Regions from separate parts of the Homo sapiens genome. Here all the other regions are linked to region 6. Evidence: promoter capture Hi-C in 16 types of primary human blood cells and fetal thymus (Javierre and others, 2016). All regions are on one chromosome and are shown on one strand. The core of a region is centred on a gene start or on the middle of the fragment in contact, and the rest is flanking DNA. Distances in the headings are between cores, read along the strand shown. Region 1 holds the start of SCGN (secretagogin, EF-hand calcium binding protein). Region 2 has its middle 18 kb from the start of SCGN. Region 3 has its middle 3.6 kb from the start of SLC17A4. Region 4 overlaps SCGN (secretagogin, EF-hand calcium binding protein). Region 5 overlaps CARMIL1 (capping protein regulator and myosin 1 linker 1). Region 6 holds the start of CARMIL1 (capping protein regulator and myosin 1 linker 1). Region 7 overlaps CARMIL1 (capping protein regulator and myosin 1 linker 1).

The links. Contacts are between HindIII fragments. The CHiCAGO score rates a contact against its expected background, and 5 or more counts as called.
Region 1: a contact is called between a fragment that was not itself captured here and the fragment with the promoter of CARMIL1 in region 6, in 2 of 17 cell types (erythroblasts and megakaryocytes). The highest score is 7.2, in erythroblasts.
Region 2: a fragment that was not itself captured here is called in contact with the fragment with the promoter of CARMIL1 in region 6 in 1 of 17 cell types (erythroblasts); the score reaches 5.4 in erythroblasts.
Region 3: a fragment that was not itself captured here is called in contact with the fragment with the promoter of CARMIL1 in region 6 in 2 of 17 cell types (erythroblasts and megakaryocytes); the score reaches 5.9 in erythroblasts.
Region 4: a contact is called between a fragment that was not itself captured here and the fragment with the promoter of CARMIL1 in region 6, in 1 of 17 cell types (endothelial precursors). The highest score is 5.3, in endothelial precursors.
Region 5: a fragment that was not itself captured here is called in contact with the fragment with the promoter of CARMIL1 in region 6 in 14 of 17 cell types (megakaryocytes, erythroblasts, M2 macrophages and 11 more); the score reaches 15.8 in megakaryocytes.
Region 7: a fragment that was not itself captured here is called in contact with the fragment with the promoter of CARMIL1 in region 6 in 15 of 17 cell types (M2 macrophages, megakaryocytes, M1 macrophages and 12 more); the score reaches 15.9 in M2 macrophages.

The regions. Positions count from the first base shown.
Region 1 is chr6:25,651,715-25,654,463 of GRCh38, reverse strand. SCGN (secretagogin, EF-hand calcium binding protein) reads right to left here and starts at 2,249. Exons shown (of 11, transcript NM_006998.4): 1 at 1,979-2,249; 2 at 1,012-1,082. The coding sequence starts at 2,060. The HindIII fragment of the contact is 215 bases long and covers 1,180-1,394 here.
Region 2 is chr6:25,633,235-25,636,034 of GRCh38, reverse strand. No RefSeq gene overlaps it. Among named protein-coding and RNA genes, the nearest start is that of SCGN, 18 kb to the left of the region's middle. RefSeq lists an enhancer at 1-396. The HindIII fragment of the contact is 983 bases long and covers 1,005-1,987 here.
Region 3 is chr6:25,749,667-25,752,706 of GRCh38, reverse strand. It overlaps a transcript of SLC17A1 not described here. Among named protein-coding and RNA genes, the nearest start is that of SLC17A4, 3.6 kb to the left of the region's middle. The HindIII fragment of the contact is 824 bases long and covers 1,361-2,184 here.
Region 4 is chr6:25,679,403-25,682,273 of GRCh38, reverse strand. It overlaps SCGN (secretagogin, EF-hand calcium binding protein), which reads right to left. Exons shown (of 11, transcript NM_006998.4): 7 at 268-323. LOC124901284 (a long non-coding RNA gene) reads left to right here. Exons shown (of 2, transcript XR_007059517.1): 2 at 1-401. It also overlaps the pseudogene PRELID1P2. Among named protein-coding and RNA genes, the nearest start is that of SCGN, 29 kb to the right of the region's middle. The HindIII fragment of the contact is 1,128 bases long and covers 866-1,993 here.
Region 5 is chr6:25,578,092-25,580,901 of GRCh38, reverse strand. All of the region lies in intron 29 of CARMIL1 (capping protein regulator and myosin 1 linker 1), which reads right to left. Among named protein-coding and RNA genes, the nearest start is that of SCGN, 73 kb to the left of the region's middle. The HindIII fragment of the contact is 1,333 bases long and covers 696-2,028 here.
Region 6 is chr6:25,277,681-25,280,711 of GRCh38, reverse strand. It overlaps CARMIL1 (capping protein regulator and myosin 1 linker 1), which reads right to left and starts at 1,338. Exons shown (of 37, transcript NM_017640.6): 1 at 877-1,338. The coding sequence starts at 916. RefSeq lists a silencer at 1,141-1,610. The HindIII fragment of the contact is 9,381 bases long and covers 1-3,031 here.
Region 7 is chr6:25,535,155-25,538,147 of GRCh38, reverse strand. It overlaps CARMIL1 (capping protein regulator and myosin 1 linker 1), which reads right to left. Exons shown (of 37, transcript NM_017640.6): 25 at 165-293. Among named protein-coding and RNA genes, the nearest start is that of SCGN, 120 kb to the left of the region's middle. The HindIII fragment of the contact is 3,740 bases long and covers 1-2,993 here.

The sequences.
Region 1 (2,749 bases), core at 38-2,537, 370 kb before region 6:
AATGACAGAGATAGACATAAAAAAGAGAGACAGACAGAATATGAGAGGCAGACAGAAGTAGAGGGGGACCAAGAGATCTGTGTGGCTGAAGAAGGCGGAAGCCAGCCCTTTTGTTTCTGAACCAGCTTCCCCTGCCCCCCACATACCCTCCCCATGTTCTCAACAGTGGTGAAGAGCTCCTTGTTCCCTCACTGAGCTCTCACATGAGAATGTGATGCACTTCTATTCTTCAGATAAACAGCTGAATGATAAGGACAAACTATCTCCATCATTCATTTAAATTCAATTGTCCCTAGAGCGTCTCCTTCTACTATGAATGCCCTACTGGAGCTTTCATCAGATCGAGCCCATCCCCAGGCTGTCCTCCGCTCATGTGTTTCTGTGTAAAATTTTTCTCTGCTTTGATAGAGAGACTTTCAAGAGTTCATTTACATCTCCCAAGGACATATTTACCATCAGATGGACACTAGATAGATTGGCTTCCATTTGTATCTGGGCTCTGAGTATGCTGGTTGTTTTCTGGTTTGTCATTCCCTGAAAAATCTGTAACCTCTTCTAATAAAATGAATAATGGATAAATGATTTTAAATGGTTTGTGGTTTGCTATCAGAGGAGTATCATACATATTAAACACCCAAAATCTTAATGTGCTTAACATCTTTTCCAGCTTTTTGAACAAAGTGGGCTACTTTACCCCCAGGTATAAATCAATTAGCAGAGACATAACCAAGGAGACGTTCAAGACCAAGTTAACTGAGTCTACAGTTAGGATCTCTGAGTGGATGACAGATGTTACACTGAAAGTCAGTAACCAGCATGTCTAATGCTACAGTTGCACCTTTTATAAAAACTGCCTAAATCCCTCTATGTTGCTAGGAGAGGGGGAGAAATTACATACATGCAAGGAAGAAAGGAGGTGAGTTGGAATTAATAGGTACCAATCAATATAAGACTTGGATGTGCGTATCTTACTAAGAGGCATAAATTAAGGCTTAGTGTGCAAGTACTTACATCAGTACCCAGTTTCATCAACATGTGGAGAAAGAAAGCATCGAGTTCCTTCTCTTCTATGTAACCTTTTTCTAAATGTGAGAAAATAAACATAAATAATACTAACATATAAAAAACACATGACAGTATTTATCTAAATATGTTTTTAATCTCACAATTCATAAAGCTTCCCTCAACACTATTTTTTGTTATTCCAATAACAAAGTGCCAACACCTACCTCTAGAATACATGGGTTTGAACAGTAAACACTGTTCCAGAATACGTGCTTTATGCTAGGGTTTATATTAGTGCTTGGAAAAGGAAGGCTATTAAGTACATGAATTTTAATCAATGAATAAACGTGAACTTTCCAATAAAATTTAACCCCAAAATTTCTGAAGCTTGGAGAAACTTAACAGGTGTAAGTATTGAATCCCAGTTTGCAGAGTTAAAACACACCTTTTAGATATTTTATTTCTTTATTAATAAAAACAAATATTAAGTAGTTCCATTTTATTTTCAAGTAGTTTTTTGGTGGAGGAGTCGTTTTGAAAGCTGATAAAATTTATTCTCATTTTGAGAGAGTGAGGGGTGTACAGCAAAGTCACTGCGTAAAAGTGAGCCCATTTAGGGAAGGATGACTTCAAATAGCTGAGTCTCAGCCCACAAGCCTTGAACATATACAATGATATTAGTCATTGTATATACAATATATATGTATGTCTACCATATATATGGCGCGCTCGCACACAAAGAGAGATTGGAAAGGGGAAAGTGGAAATTCACCACCCAGAATTTTAACAAGGTATATAGATGTGTATCACCAGTATGCCAAACGTCTGTTAATGATACTGTATTAGGTACACTGCATTAACAACCCAGGTCGATAACTTTTCCTACAGTAAAGGGGAAACTCCAGGTCCTTTCAGCGGGCTGAGCTTGGAGCCACGTCTACACCTGAGTGTGCAAGTGGCTTGTTCTACTCACCATCCGCATCAAAGCGCTGCCAGACCTGCCAGAAGCCAGCGGCGTCCAAGCGCCCCAGAGTCGGTTCCCGGGAGCTGTCCATGGTGTTGACGACGAAGACCAGGCACCGGCGCGGAAGGACCTAGACAACTTTGGGAAGGACTCCTTCACCGTATTTCTTGACTTGCTCTCCTGCTTCTTTCGCTATCTGATTAGCTTTGAGTAACTGTTGCTGGGGAGGACGCGAGCGCTGCTGGCCGTGGCGTCGCTGAGCCGTCCCTCAGCCCTCAGCAAAACCAGCGGCTGGAAGCCCGCCCCGCTCCTGGCGCGCCTGTCCCCGCCCCGCCCTGCGCGCTGTCCTGGCAGATCCTGTCTGTCTCTGCGCTTTGGGGAATTCAGGAAGAAAGAAACTGTCTCCAGGCGTCCACGGCTCACTGCTTTTGCCCTTTAACTTGCTTCTCAGACTCGGAGAAGACATCCCTCTTACGTTTGACTCACTTTCCAAACTTGTGTCTCAAGGGGTTTTCTAGGGAGAGCTGCCTCATTTAAAGGGTTGCAAGAAGTGTCAGTGTTAGGGTCCTTTGGACTTGAGGATTTAGAAATGTAGTGTGTGGAGAGGGGAGGCGAGAAGGGATGGTGATGGTGGTAAGTGGTTCCCTTTAAGGAAGAAGTCAACAGCAATTATTGAGTCCTGATTGTATAGGACATACACATTGCTGTACCAAAATGCACTATAAGGACTTGCAACTAAACAGGGATACTGCAAGTCACTGTGATTTAAAGTAGCATCAT
Region 2 (2,800 bases), core at 247-2,746, 360 kb before region 6:
GGATTAAGAGCCAAAGGTCCCTAGAAACAAGCACCTTTTATTGCCTACCATTGTTCTCTAAGCTTAACTCCCTCTGGGACTTATCAAGGGAATCAGCAGTGGACTCAAAGATCTTAATTGGTTCAGGCTTATTGCAGCCACATAATGGCCCCTATGGCTGATTTTTTCAGGAATCATTTGTTGAAAAAAACAGGAACACGTTTAAACTAGTTTAGGTAAAAACGGTTTATTGTATACATGGGACAGTCACAGATGCAGAGCACAAGCAAGGTTGATGTGTCTCACAGACACTGGAAGGTTGTCTGGCCCTTTCTGCCCTTTCTTTGAACTGCCTGGTTCTTTTCTGCTTCTCCTGGCACTCGCTGCTTCATGCTCTCTCTCTCACTTCCATGTCTCTGAGCACAGTTTCTTCTATTCTGAGTGCACACGGCCCTCCTGCCTCCAAATGGTGGTCTCAGCCTCCAAGTCTCTGTAAACTTCTTGCTCTGGGGTTGGAAAGCTTTGTCTGTAAAGAGTCAGATAGTCAATATTTTATGCTACCGAGATCCATAAAATATCTCCTGCAACTATTGACAGTCGCAGACATTATTAAACTAGCAAGCATTGCCAGATTTTGCCTATAGGCAATAGTTTGCCAGCCCCTGAACTAGCTCTTCTTAAACTTTTCCAAATTATTTGGAGAAAGAACCTGACTGATCCCCTGTGGGTCAGATGTTCATGCCAGTCATTTAGGGGAGAAGGTTTAGAGTTGCCCCTTTAACCTATGGGCTGGGAAGAAAGATGGGCTTTTCCAGCAGAGTGGCTCAATTTTGTTGTCTGAATGGGAGCAGAGGGAGTGTGCATGGCTCATTTCCAGGCTTCAGTATGAGTGTGGGTGAGAAAAATGTCCTAAATGCTGGGGCATGCTGGGTCTACATTAAGCTTTATATATATAAAAAAAAAAAATCTAAGCAGTCCCAATTCAGAACACTCAGATCCCTATAGTTGTGGCCTAAACCCAAGCTTTTCCATGTTTGCAGATGGTCAACAGAACTACAGGGACCTTCAGCTGGCTGCATAGGTCAAAGAATGGAGTCTCTGGTGCAAGAATGGAGACTCTGGTGCGAGAATGGAGTCTGGTGCAAGAATAGAGTTTTTTCATGCATCACACACTTAGATGTAACCTATAAAACATTTTATATGTTCCACTTTAATAACATATCCAGGTATTGAGTACAAGGAGTATGTTTGCCACAGCTCTGACCCTTGCATCCTATGTCATCTGTACAGGATGGGGAATGGAAGGAGCTGAGGTTCAGAATGTGCTTGGTGTGTTACTTCGTTGGTAATCAAAAGTAGCACATTTACATATTGGCACATCAAAATGTTCTTTTTTGTACATTGCTGCAGGTTAAGAAAGACACAGCAGGACCTGTGTAGAGTCAGAGAAGGGAAAAACAAGTATAGTCTGAGAAGGAAGGACTTCCACTCCTAAATATATAGCGAAAACCTACTCATCATCTTCTGGGTGGACAGAGCCTGGTTTGTATCACAGGAAGGGATATGGGAATCATGATGCTGTCACCAAATCAGGTATCTCACAAAGGATGATCAGAGGAGGTCTTTGGAAGCTGAGAGGATATAGATGAATTTTAGAGAAGATTAAAATCTTCTCTCTACACAATGGGAAGAAGTTAGCAGAGGTCTTTTACCTGGAAGAGCTGCACTGGCCAGCAATTGAAGTGACTATGCTCCCTTGCATGTTGAGAAGATGCAAAGTCAAGTGGCTGGAGAAACAGAACCACATTTGCTGAGTACCTACAGTGTGCTAGATGTTCCCCACATTATCTTGTGAATCCTCCAAATGGTCTTGCGATGTAGATATTAATTTTCCTGTTTTTAGAGATGAGCCAACTGGGACTCAGAGCATTTAAGTAACTTCCTCAAAATTCCTGTCAGTATGTAGCAGAGTTAGAGCTCAGTCTTGGGTCTTTCTGAAGTCAAAGCTTGTTTTCTTTTTGCTAAAGTAGCAGTTTTCAGTCCCATCAGACCCAAGGCCCCTTTTTATAATAAATATCTTGTAACGTCTTCTTTACTACCCTGAAAAAAAATCATTGAAAACTAGTTTCTTTTCTTTTTTTTTCTTTTTTTTTTTTTTTTTGAGATGGAGTCTCGCTCTGTCACCCAGGCTGGACTGCAGTGGCGTGATCTCGGCTCACTGCAACCTCTGTCTCCCAGGTTCAAGCGATTTTTCAGCCTCAGCCTCCCAAGTAGCTGGGACTACAGGTGCGTGCCACCACACCCAGCTAGTTTTTGTTTTTTTAGTAGATACAGGGTTTCACTATGTTGGCCAGGCTGGTCTCAACCTCCTGACCTCATGATCCGCCTTCCTTGGCCTCCCAAAGTGCTTGGATTACAGGCATAAGCCATCACACCGGGCCTGAAAACTAATCTTATGTATAGTACTTGGGTTTTGTTTGTTCGTTTGTTTTGTTTTTGTTTTTTGAGACAGGGTCTCACTCTGTTGCCCAGACCGGAGTGTAGTGGCAGGATCATGGCTCACTGTAGCCTCAACTTCCTGGGCTCAAGAAATCCTCCCACCTCAGCCTCCCAAGTAGCTGGGGCTACAGGTGCATACCACCATGCCTGGCTAATTTTTATTTTTTGTGGAAATGGGATTTTGCCATGTTGTCCAGGCTGGTCTCAAACTTCTGAGCTCAAGCGATCCTCCCACCTCGGTCTCCCAAAGTACTGGGATTACAGGCATGAGCCACTGCACCTGGCCTAGTACTTGCTTTTCTTAAAAAAGCAATAATATCTA
Region 3 (3,040 bases), core at 523-3,022, 470 kb before region 6:
TGCTGGGATTACAGGCGTGAGCCACCGCACCCGGCCTAAAGAAAATATTTTTGTACAGCAGTACAATATGTTTGTGTTTTAAGCTGTGATTACCAGAGTCAAAAAGTTTAAAAACATTTAAAAGTTTATAAAGTCAAAATGAAATAGTAAGCTAGAATTTATTATTGAAGAAATAAAATTTTTTTATAAACTTAGTGTAGCTTAAGTGCACAGTGTTTACAAAGTCTACAGCAGTGTACAGGCATGTCCTGGGCCTTCACATTCACTCACTGCCTCACCCAGAGTAACTTCCAGTCTCACAAGCTCCATTTATGATAAGTCTCCTAGACATACCATTTTTTATCTTTTTACTGTACCTTTTCTATGTTTAGATATGTTCAGATTCTCAGATATCACTGTTTTAATTGCCTGCAATATTCAGTATAGTAACATGTGGTACAGGTTTGTAGCCTAGGAGCAATGGGCTAGACCACATAACCTAGGTGTATAGCAAGCTCTACCATCTAGGTTTGTGTAACTGCACTCTATGGTATCCACACAACAAAACTGCCGCACAGCACATTTCTCAGAATGTATTCCTATGGTTAAGCGTCGCGTGTTTGTATTATAGCAAATATACAGCACATGCTCTGTGGGGAGAAGAAGCAGTAGATGAGTTTCTGTGGCCAGCATTATTAATTGGCTAAGCAAAACCACATTTCCAAATTTCTGTGCCCTAGCTTGTATCTACTATAAGGCATATAGGAACAAAAACTTCATTTCTGTGGCTTCCTTGAAACAAATGGGGCCTACACATTTCTGGCCATTGATGCATAAAAAGAAGTAGGCCTGTGTCTCATCTTTTTTTTTCTTTTTTCTTTTTCCTTCTGCCGTAACAGTGGATATCAGGTCTTGAGGTATGGCAAGTACCTGAGGCTCATTAGACAACAGCAAGATGAAAGCCAATAAACTGATGATGGCTCTATCAGTCAGGATAAGCTAAGTTACACTGGGATAACAAATGACCCAAAAATCTCAGTTGCTTATAATAACAAAGTTTTATGTGCTGTTCACAATTCATGACCATCGTGTCTTGGCTACAGCTTCTCACCATGTTTTCCTCACTTAGGGGCCCAGTTTGACAAATCAGGCTTTATTTGGAATATGGATGGTCTCATGGCAGAAGTAAAAGAGAAATTATGGTGAGCCAAGTGCTTGCTCTTACAGGTTTTGCCTAGGTGTCACTTCCACTCAAATTTCATTGGGCAAAGCAAGTCAGATGGCCAAGCCCAATAGAACCAAAATAGAGAAATACAATTCTTTCCAGGGCAGGGCCAGGGAAAATTTTTGAACAGTCATATAAGCTATCACTGTCCAAGCTTCAATTCAAAATTATTTAGTTAGTAAACTATCCTTTCTGCACACAAAATATACTTAATCCCTTCCTATGAAAAGCCAAGTCAAAGTCTCATTTAATTATAGCTTCAGGGCTGATGTTGACAATTTTATGATATTATCTCGTCAGGTTGAATATGACTTGTCTTGCTCCAGAAACTCATGAACTAACGAGACTAGGTGTCTGCTTCCCCTACACACCCATGCACACCCAATGTGTCATGCTAGGACACAGAAAAGATAATTGCAGACAGAATTGCACAGGAGTTTGTAGTTCAAAGAAATCTGAGATCATGTGGGTAGCTATTTCAGTCTTCCTCCTATCTCCGCATATGTGATAATCCCTAATTAATCTGTGGCTGTGCATGCCATGAGTAATTCCCCTAGGATATTATTTTTCACAGGTCTTGGCTCCATGCTCTGGCCAGTCCTTCCTTTTCCAATATCTCCTTTGACCATATTTGAATAGTCCTTGCAGACTGGGCAGAATACTAGGCCCATTGCTGACAAAAAAAATTTTTTTAAAATACGACACCCCCCTCCCCCCACACACACAAGTGACATAACCCTTGATAAGTCACAGTCTCCTTTATCCAGGTTGGTAGTTCTGTGGTATTATGTCACTCAAAATCATAACCAGTTTCCTATACAAGTGCTTCTCCTTCCCTCCTTTCTCTCTCTCTCTCTCTCTCTCTCTCTGACATGGGTTACTTTGAGCCTACCAGGCTTCAATAGAAAAGCCATAACCTTTGCTTCATTATTTTTATGAATGGTTACCACCTTGATTTGATACTTGCACAAGACCAAGCTTTAAAAGGACTTTCTTACTTAAATCATTTCTCAGTTTTATCTTTAACTGTTGGGAGTTGAGAAATAGTATCTTTCAACTCAGTAAGTCTACAGTTTTTAGTTTCTCTCAATTTCCTTCATTCTGATTTTCAAACCAGCTAATTACTTTTTCAGATTATGTCTTGTTTTATTATACTTTGTGAAATATAGTCAATAGTAAATCACATGATTTACATTAACTATGCCAAGAACTTCACCAAAAATAATAAGCTCAATAGGGAAATTACCTATAAATTCATTTCTAAAGTTTTCTAAATGTTTCACCTATGCAAATTAAGTACTACTGCCCTTCTAAACTCTAATAACAGCTTCTTTTCTGCTCCTATCCCATCCCTGAAGCCAATGCCCCAAAAAAGGCGGTGCTTTGTTTTATTTTGTTTTTAATCTATGGCAACACCCTATGCTACGCCTTGCACTAATTTCTGTGTTGGTTAGGAAAGGAGAAGTTAGGCTGTGGTAAGAGATGAAGCCTTAATTAGTGGCATACAATGTAATTTTATTTCCTGCTTCAAGATACATGTCTAGCACAGGCCAGCAGCAGCTGTGATCCACATCATCTTCATGTTGGGACCAGGCTTATAGGCAGCTTCCATCTGAAACATTACAGCCAGTCTCATGGCACAGAAAAGAGAGAATATATGGAGAAACTTATGGCTGGAAACATGTTATTTCTAATTAAATTGAATTGATCAAAGTAAGTCACATGATCCAGATGGATATTAATGCAGCCAAGAAGTATGAAGAAGGCAGCAAGTATCTGTGAACAATAATATATTCTACCATGGGGTCGAGTAGAAAAATAAAAAAAAAAACTTGA
Region 4 (2,871 bases), core at 180-2,679, 400 kb before region 6:
TTAAGGGTAGGGTCTTCCCATGACCCATCCATAACATTTGTGAAAATGTTGTGTGTTGTGCGTTTTGGAGAGAAGAATTTTCATTATCTTCACAAAGGGATCTGTTACCCTAAAAGATTTAGAATCACTCAGCTTATTGGTAAGATGTGCCTATTCTTTTAGACTCCAGGTGAGGCTTGATCTCCAGTCTCAAAAGGAAATATATGATGTCATCAGACCCCTAGTAAGGTATTTCTGAATGTATGATATCATTTCCATGTAACTCACCTTGCTAAGTCATTTAGATCCAACCGACCATCTTTATTTCTGTCAAAAATCTTCATCTGAAATGCAGAAGGGAAAATGGTTGTACTTGTAACAGGAACTAATTCTGAACGTTATTAAAGCACTTTTCTATTTTGCTCTTCTGATTACATATTTGCCTAAATTGGCTGAGGAGCCCACTTGCCTGGGGGAAAATTAGTATTTGTCACAGAAGGAATTGCATGTCAGCCTCTCTGTTAGGATGAGTCGTAGTAACCAAATCTCCTAAATCTCAGTGGCTTAACACAACACAGGTTTATTTTTCACAGGGTTAGCTGGCAGCTCTACTTCATGTTGTCTATACTCTGGCGACATGGAGTGACAAAGTAGTGACCATCTGGCACATTCCTGATTGCCATGGCAGAAAGAAAGAATAATAAATAATTTACTGATTAAAATTTTATTGTCCAAAGCAGATCCCTGGCCACAGCTACCTTCAAAGGGACAGAATAATACAATCCTGCCATGTGCTTAAGAGGAAAACTAATTATTTGGAGGATAGCAGCAACGACTACCACAGTCTCTGACAGGCAAAACAGGATTTTTATAAAGATTACAAGCTTGAAATATGGGTACTTGGTTTGAGTCAAGGTTTTCTGAAACTATTTTATTCTAGCCCTCATTTAGCATATCAACCACCAAGGAGGGCTTGGAGGGCTCATATCATAGGGTACTCTCATAGGGTATAGGAGAAACCTCATGTTTCCGTGAAGGCAAAAGGTGTTGACACTGAGTCTTTCCTTTCATAGAGAGACTTAGCATTGTCCAAAGAAGTTGTTTACATTATTAGATGAGACTAAACTTTAAACAAGATAGGACTAAAAGTTAAAAGTTTCTGCACTAACCACAAATTAGAAAGACCAGATTGGTTTGGGCAAAATAGAAGAGAGAGATTTCTTTGCAGATCTGAGTTGAAATGTGAGTGAATTTTGTGACTTTACAACATTTTAATGCTACAGAATATCTCTAAGCATATCCATATAAGGAGGCTGCACAGGGAAAAAGAGGGAGCGAGATAATCTGAAAATACATCCAACAGATTTTTGCTTTAAAAAATGCATTAGTCCCCCATCCTTCCTCTGTCTCCAAATCCAGTTTATTTTTAATATTTCAAATGAATTTGAAAACCTATTCTCACCACTTTGGCACCAAAAATGTGTATTACAGAATTAAAACACAGGTTACATTTTTATACATTTGGACATGTTACATGTCCAATTACGTCCCTTAAACATAAACACTATACAGTATCCAGTAAAAAGTCTGATGGGGATAAACTTTGCCAGAAGATGAGCCATGAGTTATTTTCTGTGACACCTTCATTATGAGAGGTTCTATCTTAATAGAAAGCTAGGTCAGCTTGAGCTCTAAGCAAGTAACAACTCACCTTGAAAGACGTGGGCCTAACTCCATTGCTGTGCAAACTTACTCCAAGAGAAAACAATCCTGTGCTCGAAATTGGCCTGGGTTGAACTAAACACCAGTGTGGTAAATTATGCTTCTACCTATCAGAAAATTGGCTATGGCTCACGTAAGAATAAGAATCAGGAAAAAAATCATTTGCCTAATTTTTCCATCTCTGAGTGTATACCAGCAGGGATGAATGGCACACATATTCGGCTGTGTCTGCTCTTCTACTTTCCTGGGGCCTCTGTAGCTCTAAGTTCAAATATTAATAATGAGGGAAGCTTGCAGCATGCCTGTAGCACCAGACTAGAAATCAGATCTTGTGTGACATTAAGACATTATGCTTCTTTGCAAGTATAACCTTTAGTGAATTTTGAATGCTTGGCATATTTGTTTGAGACATAATGGCTTCTTAATTTTTAAACTATAATAAAGACCATTTATGAGGGCTCAATAGTTTTTATGTTATTACATTTAATTATCACAACATCCTTATAATGTAAAAAAAATCTGCGTTTGTAATAAATAAGGAAACTGATATTTAGAAAGATTGAAGTAGGTTGTTTAAGAAGCAAGATTTTAATCTAAGTATATCTGTCACCAGAGCTCTTTCCATAAAACCAGGCTCTTAGCTCTATAAAGTCTGGATATCTCATCATGAATTTGGTTTGCTTCATGTTTGGTTATGAAGTAAAACATCTGGTGCCATAGACTATGCCAGAGATGTGATATTTACCTTTTCTAATTGCCTCTTTTTCCCTGGGAAAGCAAGAAAAGACTCTACGTGGATTTCCCTCCAATTCAGTGGCCTGAATTTCCCCTAAAGAAATATAAACTTCATGATAGTTGAGTCAACTCTAAGACTGCCAGTTTTCACTTCACTGGATTCATGCTTATATAGTTCATTTCTATCTATTTTCCCTACCCTTGACTATAAACCAAGAGATATAAGCCTAGTCCTGACAACTGCTCCAGGCAGTGGTGGCAGGTTGGTCACAGCCTGAGCTCCATGAGCAAGTGCCCCTGCCAGCCCTCAGCCCACAACCCAGCTCCCCTTCAATCCCCTGCACACACACACACCTGCCCACGGGGCTCCGTGCCCTGAAGCTGCAAGGGTGCTCATTTACCCTGGCTGGAATGATGATGAAGTATTCCTAGGCC
Region 5 (2,810 bases), core at 113-2,612, 300 kb before region 6:
AAAAAACACTTAGGTAGCCACAGAAAACTTGCCTTTCAAACTTCTGAAACATTCTGGATCGACTGTTTAACTCAGTAGTTGTTTCTCTGCTTTAGAAGATGATTGAAAACCTAACTGAAGAGACCAAACTATTTCTAAATGTTTACAATTTCTCAAATGATACAGCTAACCTCTTTGTTTCATCCCTAACCAGTTGAATTCCACTTATATAGCTGAAAAGAGCAATGAATGAATTTAATTCCAAGCTGTGTAAGAGGATGTTAAAATGGATACATAAATAAAAATCAAAGACTGTTAAAATCAGTCACGAAAAACTGAAAACACTATTAAGTGATCATTGTCACAGTAACATCAATGTAAGCAACCCTGACCTCTTTCTGTGTCACATCAATGACTTAAGTAGTTGCACTCTCGTTTCACATTTTGCCCCCAAGATTTTGATCTTTACTTCATGGGCAAAGACCAGGAAAAGGTGCTAGGATTCAAAAATCTGTATCTGCTGGCACTTCTCAGTGAAATGTCTTTGATCCTGTTAATCTTCTAAAAAATGAAACCGAAACTCAAACCAAGGGCCAAAACTGAAGAGCACTTTCCTAGCATTGGTGTCAACTGTTTATGGTGCAAAGCCAACCCTCAGAAAGGCACTATCTTCTCCCTCAATAGGATCACACAAATGTCAAAGACGGAGGGAAGCTTTGTCATCACCTACACAAATAAACTCCAAGGATGAAACTGAGTTACAGAGATGACAAAGGCTAACATTCATGGTGTCAGAAGGAGCAGAGCCATGGACAGAACCCAGTGAGGAGGGTCAGGCCAGCATCCTTCCTGCCACATCATTCATGACCCATATAGAGATGGATGGATGTTAGGGATGTTTTCACTGGTTTGATATCAGGAAACTGGTACGTGTATAAACTAAGAGGTAACATAACTGAAAGAACTTAGTTTGCATACTTTCATTTAATAGGTTTTCATCTAATGCTTCCTCAAAAAAACAATCTACATGATTGAAAAACATTCTTTAGCTCCAAGGAGAAACTGGCTGATACTGATCTTTAAAGCAAACAAATCTATAGTTTTGACAATTATGCCAGTTTTAATAATATCATTTTGCTATTATTTATTGTTGAGAGAAAAGGGAGATAAAAAAATGATTAGCAATTGTATTGAAATCCAGACTGGTTTTCCTAAAATACAAAATGAAACTTGCCGATTTGGCTTTTTTCAAGGTTTTGTTAAAGGCAGACAAACTGAGGAAAAGCTATTTATAAAGTAACAGGTTTTGCAGGTTCAATAAAAACTCAGCTAACTCAATGCAAATGGAAAGGAATCCAGTTTAAGGCAGTTCTCCCCAAAGTTAGCCATGCAGTTGGCTGAAGAAGTTAGTGGCCTGCCTGGTCTATTCACAAGTGAAATCTCTGAAAGTAATTCTCAGGAGATACAAGCTATCAAAATATATGCTGTGTTTGGTCGCAACAAGTTCTTCAGTATTCTATCCATCTTGTGCACAATCATGGTAGGTAAAATAATCAAGAAGTAGCTTCAGATATAATTTTTAGCCAATTTCATTTAGATTGTCACAAATAAAGAGGAAAGATGTTTAAAAATGCATGGACTGAAGATGTCTTTTTTTTTTTTTCCTGACTCTTGATTATATTTTACAGGAAGTGTATTCATAGGCAAAAATAGTCTGGTTTAAGTTTCCATATCATGAAAGTCTTTATGATACCAAATAAATGTAAAATATATAAAAATTATATTTCAAATATATTATAATTTTAAACATATAAAAATATGTACTATATATAAAATAAATGACAATATATAATATGTACAGAAAGAATCACATTTGCAAACTCATGTCCATCTGTGAATAGGTCATTCAGCTTAGTTTAATTTCATAGACATAATTAAGAAACACACGAAATCATCAGGATAATTTGATGGTTGATATCACTCAAAGGGGAGCTAGTTTTCTCCTCTTGGTCTTGTTTTCCAATGCTTCAAAGCCCAGTATAGAAAGCTTGAATATCAGAAAAACTCACTCTAATGTATTTTACTTGCTTTCCTTTATTTTGTGTGCTTTTTACAAGGGTAAGTAACTTCTAATTACATTTCCCATAAATCTATACCTATCATATCTTGTAGTTCTGAAGTTTTGGCACAGAGCCAATGGTCTTTTGCTAAAATAGAATTTGTAATCAGGCTAGTTTCTACAATTGGTATTAAGAAGGCAACCCAGCTTCTGTATCTTTCCTTCATGGGATTTAAGTGCAACAACAGAGAAAAAAAAACTCAATCTCATTTCTCCCATATTTTTATTACTTTTCTTTGGAAGTAATTCTTCCTTAGTTTTACAGAAAATGTGGACTTCCTTAATCTTATTGGCTTATTCCTACAATGCCATTACATATAAACCTAAAGCAAGAGGAAATATAACAATGTACTATAATTATCCACCTAAGTGTATATTTAGGAGCAAATATTTAATGTTTGTCTAGAAATTTGGTTTATTTGCGCTCCTTCCTCCTCCCCTCCCCAACTGTTGGGTTGATGAAATACATCCCAGAAAAAGAAAACAATCTGACTTTACCATCTTCTTTAACACTGTTAGCTCTCTTCTCTTTTTGTACCAAAATGAAAGGGTCAATTTTTTCAAACTGTTTCTTAGTCCTTATTGACCTTTCCCTGACATTTGTTAATGCCTAAGTACTTTCTGAGTCAGAGAAATCACAAAGTGTCCATCAGATGAAGGGGGGTCAGCGTTTGAAAAAGAAGAGGTACATACTGCAAATGGACCTCTCATC
Region 6 (3,031 bases), core at 89-2,588:
AACGCTAGGTTTTCAGAACACTCTCCCATCCTATTTCAGCTCTGCCATTTTAACCCTCCAGATAATTAAGTTAAACCCCAAGACTTAACCAGCCCCGCCCCCACCACCACCAAAAAAAAAAAAACCTCAAGGTACTCAAACAATGGGTCACCTTGCACAGCGTAACACACACGGGTTCCCTAAGAGATCCCCTATAGGGAGAATCGGTAGGTTAATCATTATTAAAATAAGGCTTTTATCATTAACCCTCTATTTCCTGGCCTGAGTCTGCGTCAGCCCTGTAACCCTTTCGCTCCCAGCTGGCTACACCAAGCCACACCTTGCCAAGCCCAGTCATTTTACCAGACTAGCGCCCACTCCCCCAAGTCTGCGTGTCAGAAGATCACCTCCCGCGGGGCATTTTCAGGAAAGCGCCTGACACGTGCCGGAGACGACCTACTGTGCGCTCGCCACCTGTCCTTCCAATAGGCTTTCCCGGACTTTCCCGAGTTTGGGGCAGTGGGCTGGGAGCTGTAAAGGGCTCCCCTCGCTTGCAGAACTCCCAAGTCTAAGATGGCCCGCCCCCTTCTTTCGCCAACCTGGATCCCCGCTTCCGGGCAAGAGGAGGTGCCCAGGGCTCACAGTCGAGACCCTCCTCCCACCCACCTCCCGAGGACTCCCGATTCCTCCCCGAAGCCTTCCCTCTCTGCACTTGGCTCTACAGGCGGTCGGATGGGAACAAACTTCCCGGCACCCCCAGTGACCCTGCCCAACACCACTCTGCCCTAAGGGGCGCCAAGACTTCTCGAGACCTGCGGGAAAGCAGAGGTGGGAAGGGAGAGAGAGGTGAGGAGTACGCAGAGGAAGGTGGAAAACCAACAACCGCGTGAATCTTACCTATCAACTCCCTGGGAACGTCAGAGCTCTCCTCGGTCATGGTTGCCCTGTAGGTGTGGGGGTTATTGCAGGTCCAACTCTGATTTATGGCCCCCTGCCCTTCCCCGAACTCCTCAATTTTTTTAGAGAGGCAGATGCAGCTTGCAAATGGAAGTGGGCAAGAAAAGGGGGGGCGGAGACAGAATTTTGCCGCGCGCCCCCCGCCCCACCAAAAAAAAAAAAAAGAGTTGCAAATGCGAGGCGGATTTGCTGCTGCTGCTACATGACGCCTCCTCGCAGTTCCCGGCGGCTGAATAAGGAGCGGACCGGATTACAAGCGGGCGCGGGGCGCGGGGCGGCTGTGGCGCCTGCTCCTCCTCCCGGCTCGCTGGTCCCCGGCGGGGCTTGGGCCGGCGTAGCTCCCGCCCAGCCTCCGCGCCGCACCTACAGCCCTAGGTGAAAGCGGAAGGCGTGGGAGAGGGCGGGGAGAGCGGCGCGGGGCGGGGGGAGTAGGTTTTCCTCGCGCTCCTGCCGGGCTCCGGCTGGGCGGGGGCAGCTCCGGCCCTCCTCCTTCTCCTCCTTCTCCTTCTCCTCTTCCTCCTGCGTTTCCTCCTCACCTCGCGAGAGCCGGCCTCCGCACCGGTGCGAGGCCGGCCTCCGGTGCCCGAGCGCTGGGTCCCCGGCGTAGGTCGCACCCCCAGGAGAGACGCTGTGCGGTGCTGCGGTGGCGGCGGCGGGCACCGCGCCCCTCCTCGCAGCCTCCCTCCCAAACCGCAAAAGCCCTGCGTCTGGAGAGGGGGCGAGCGGGCTCGCGAGAGAGCCCGGGAGCCATCTGCTGGCTGCGAGGGAGGAGAGCCGGGTGAGCCGGGCTTTCCATTTCCTTGTCCCCACTCCGGGCGGGCCAGGGGACCCAGAAGACGGGAGACGGCAGATTCTGCAGACCCGTCTACACGGAAGCTGGTTCTTTTTGGGACCCTCTTACGCACTTTTTCTTTTTCAACCCTCCCGGTGACATGTCACTTCATCATCGCTATTCTTCATTTCTGATGAGCTAGACGAAACCTGTGAACACTAATCATACCGTGAGAAGACACTTGTGTGTGTGCGTTCAGCTGGTGCTCTGCAGCCGCAGTTCGCTATCTCAGACATTCCCGTTGAGAGCGCCTTGGAAAATGCCTTTCACTCGGAAAAGTCTCTTTTATCCTCGGGGCATATTCAGGAAGCTGAGCTTTAATCACTGGAGCCTATGTAAGCCTGCGGATAGGTCTGATCCTACCTGGGCCCAAACTCCCTATGACTTCCCTGAGCTCCATCCCCAGAGGTTCAACTTCAGGGCCAAGAATACTTTGTGCCTCAATCGCTGCTTTTTAGCCTAGGGCTGGGAATGTCCCAGACTGTCTAATCAGGTTCTGCTTTTAAAGGACAGAAAAGGAGGAAAGGAAAGGGAATCCATGCACTTGGCAATCTAATTTTAAACACTGCTGTTGACCTTGGACCCCTTAGAATCATCTTCAGCCCCACAGCCAGGCCTTACCACTAAGGATTTGCCAACCTGGCCCCTTCCCACCCTCCTTAACCTCTCCCACTCCCTTCTCTATTACAACCAGACTCACTGTTTGCTTCCTCCTTCCTCTTAAGGTTATCTGATTCTTATCTATGTTTTCAAACCCATCCCAATGGTCTACCTTCTTTGTGAATATTTTCCAGGGATTTTCAGATTACTGTGATCCCTAAGCCTCTACAATATGTATTGCCTGAAACACTTTTCTAAACCCAACCATATGGTGTCGTGTTTCATTGCTTGTGTATTTGTCTGGTTTTACTATCTAACTCTTGCATTGTCCCCTGAGTTTGGATTTTTTCTGCCCAACTAGACTGTAGGTGAGTTGAAAGTGGGAATTTATCTTAGACTTTTGAACTTCTTCAACAGCCTAGTTCAAAATAGGTGTTCAATAAACATTTGTTAACTGATTTTAGAGCTTTGGACCTCAGGCCTCCAACCATTTGTTTCAAAAGTGGGCAATTTCTTTAAGCTAGACATTTCCTTAATGCATTAAATATATTTTTTCTGCAGTAAATGGAAATTAACATCTCAAACTGTCTTTCATTCAACCTGGTGTGTTAAAGAGGACTTTTCTGGCACATACCAATGAAGTTTCAGAAATGCCCTGAAGTT
Region 7 (2,993 bases), core at 442-2,941, 260 kb before region 6:
GCACAGGTACAGAAAGGAGGTCAAGGCTAATTCAGTTCACTTTGCCACTTGTTAGTAAACTTGGAATTGGGTAGAGAGAGAAAGTTGAAACTGGTTTCTAAAACTAAATTTTATGAAACGTTTTTATTATACCAGACTCTCACACAGCCTGAAGTGAAACTCACCGTTTTAGAGTTCTTAGCATCACGCATGAGCCGCTCTGCTGATTTTAAATCTTCCTGGATAGCGTCTCCCCCACAATTTCGTAAGGAGTTGAGATGATCTTGTACTTTCACACATATTCTGTCAATCATCTGCTCCAAACCAGAAAAAGGCAAGCATCCAAGTCAGCCCAGCCGATATTCAGATAGAAGGAAACACAGAACGAAGGAGTATGAAAAAAACTTCAGCAAACCACAGAATGCACAAGGATGAAAACCTCAAACCCTTCTAACTGGAGTCACTGAGAATGCTGCTTGTAAGCAATTATTAATTTACTTTATTCATGCAAGTAACCTTTGGCAACTTTAATGCCAGAAAAAAATTGAAGGCATTTCAGTTCCCTTTCCTGCCTTAGGAAATGCAGCACGTAGAACAAAAGTGAACACTTCTTGATGATTCAGAACCTCACTCAGTGACATTTTGCTAGATACTAACTCCTTCATTAACTTTTAGTGAGCACCCTCTATGTGTTAGACATAGAGTTAGGTACTGAGGAAACAGAGAAATAAAATGTGCAACACTGAGACTGTTGTAATGACTACAAAATGATGCCCAACAGCCAGTTGGTCTCAATACTATAGAAACCAGAACATCTCTTAAAAATTGGTATTTTAAAAATCGATTCAATTACATCAAGTATTTTTCTTTGTAAATTAAGAGCCACCAAAAAACAAAAACAAATTGAGGTTTTATTATATTAACATAGGTAGTAATGAAGTCAATATCATCTAGTTTCTATTACAATAAGATGCCTCCCCTACCAGTTTAATTGCACCTAAATCATTCTCAATTGTTTTACGGATATAAACACAAAACCCAATGGGAGATGGTGGATCTCTATGGTAGACAAAAAATATTTCAGAAAGGTTAAGATTATGCTCTTCTATATTTGTACTTATACAAAAAAGCATGAAGGAAGCCAAGAAGTCTGAAGAAAAAGATAACCACAGTGTGGTTTTAAAAGTGTCTCCAATATTTTCGTTAGAGCTGCCGGTTGTCTATTTATTTCATGTTCTTAAAAAAAGTATTCATTCTTCAAAGGCCTTACATGTCAAGAGTCCTCTTCCATCTGATAATTCATTTGGCAGAGGAGACAAACAATATTCTTTTTTAGTTAAATTCACACTTCTCTATTTTGAATTATTTGATATCATAACGATAGGAAGCTAAAGTCTGCCCTTCTTCCCCCATAAATTTCAAAATGATAGAGACTTTACACACTATTCCGAAGACTTCAGGTCTGATTACAGAGCCCATGTCTACTTGCTGTAGCACTGCCATCTCTCTTGCCTTTTTCTTTGTAAAGTCAGGTTCATAATATCTACCGCACATTCTTTATTAGTGTGTTATGAAGACAATTCAATAAAATAACAGCACTCAAGCACCTATTGTTGAAAAAGGGCCAGTAATGCCAAAGTTTATGTATAATAAAAACAGCTCCTATTGCTGTAAAATATATTGAGGTTACATACGTTATTATCTTGAGATCCCCCTAGGAAAAAGAAGTTGTATGAATATTGCTTCTCACATCAAATTCTCTGCCTAAAATCCCTAAAAATCTAAGACAAGAAAGTTATGATTCCTGCCTCTGATTGTAGGCAGGAATCATATCTTTCTGCATTTACACAATGCCCTGCATAGAGCTAACTATAAGTTTTTTAAAATCTTAATTGATAGAAATCATAACTCTTCTAACTATTGTATTGATCTGTGCCTCCTGAAGCAAAAAGGGTCATTAATAATTCATATCTTACCAAGAATGAATGCCTAATTTCAAGAGACAAACCACACACTAAGAAAGAAACTGATATACATTTGGGGCTGCAAAAGGCTAATTTGAGAGGCATGTGGATGAGGCACTATAAAGTTGGTATCTTTAATCACCACGAGAGAACAAAGAGACACTTGAAATGTATGCCCTTAAGCATTCACCAAGGGGAGAGGATTTACATGAACTCAACAAAAATGGTCTTTAAGTAGAACATTTAAAATGTCATGCAAAAGAACAATCAAAATTAAGTTCTTCAATTCAAAGAAGACATAAAATCTCATGTCTCCAAGATTCCTCTGAGCATAGCTCAGCAGACCACATTTAGATCCTTTACCATGAAAGAGCTCAAAGCTCAGAAAAGGTAAACTATTTAAGATGACATGCAATGATTACACAGAGTACAGATTGAAAATTTTGAAAAAAGTAAATCAAGGGGTTTATCAGTTCATAATTCGTCTCTCAAGTACATAAATACGAAAAATAAAGGAGATGCAATCTGAAAGGCTATAATCTCTTGGGTTACCCCGTTAGAAGACCTCATAGAAGATGGTTGTGTTAGGGCTGTTTAGTTTAACCTCTCTACTTCACCCTAACCCTATAGTGTTCAGTTTCTCTAAAGCAATACAGAAAAGTTGTTGACGGCCATAGTTTATGAAGCTCAATTCCTTCCAAGAAAATGTACCCTGTCATTCCTAGATAAGGTTTTGAGTCTTAATCTGTCTTCTTACACCCTTCCTGCAGGTCCCATATCTTCCCCTTGAGAACACTCTGCACAATCATATGCTCTCTTCTAGTGACAGTCCTGCACATATTTAAATACACTTATTTTTCTTCCTTAGCCTTCTTTTCTTCAGGTTTAACATTCCCAGCTCCTTTTCCCATGCCTACGCTGACACAGTTCTCCAGTCCTTGACCTCCTTTCCTGTAGGTCACTTCTGCATTCTGTCTTCCACCTAGAACCTCATGAAGTCTCCTTAGTGAAATGGATTGTAACTAAGAGTGGACTGGAAAGCACAGAGCT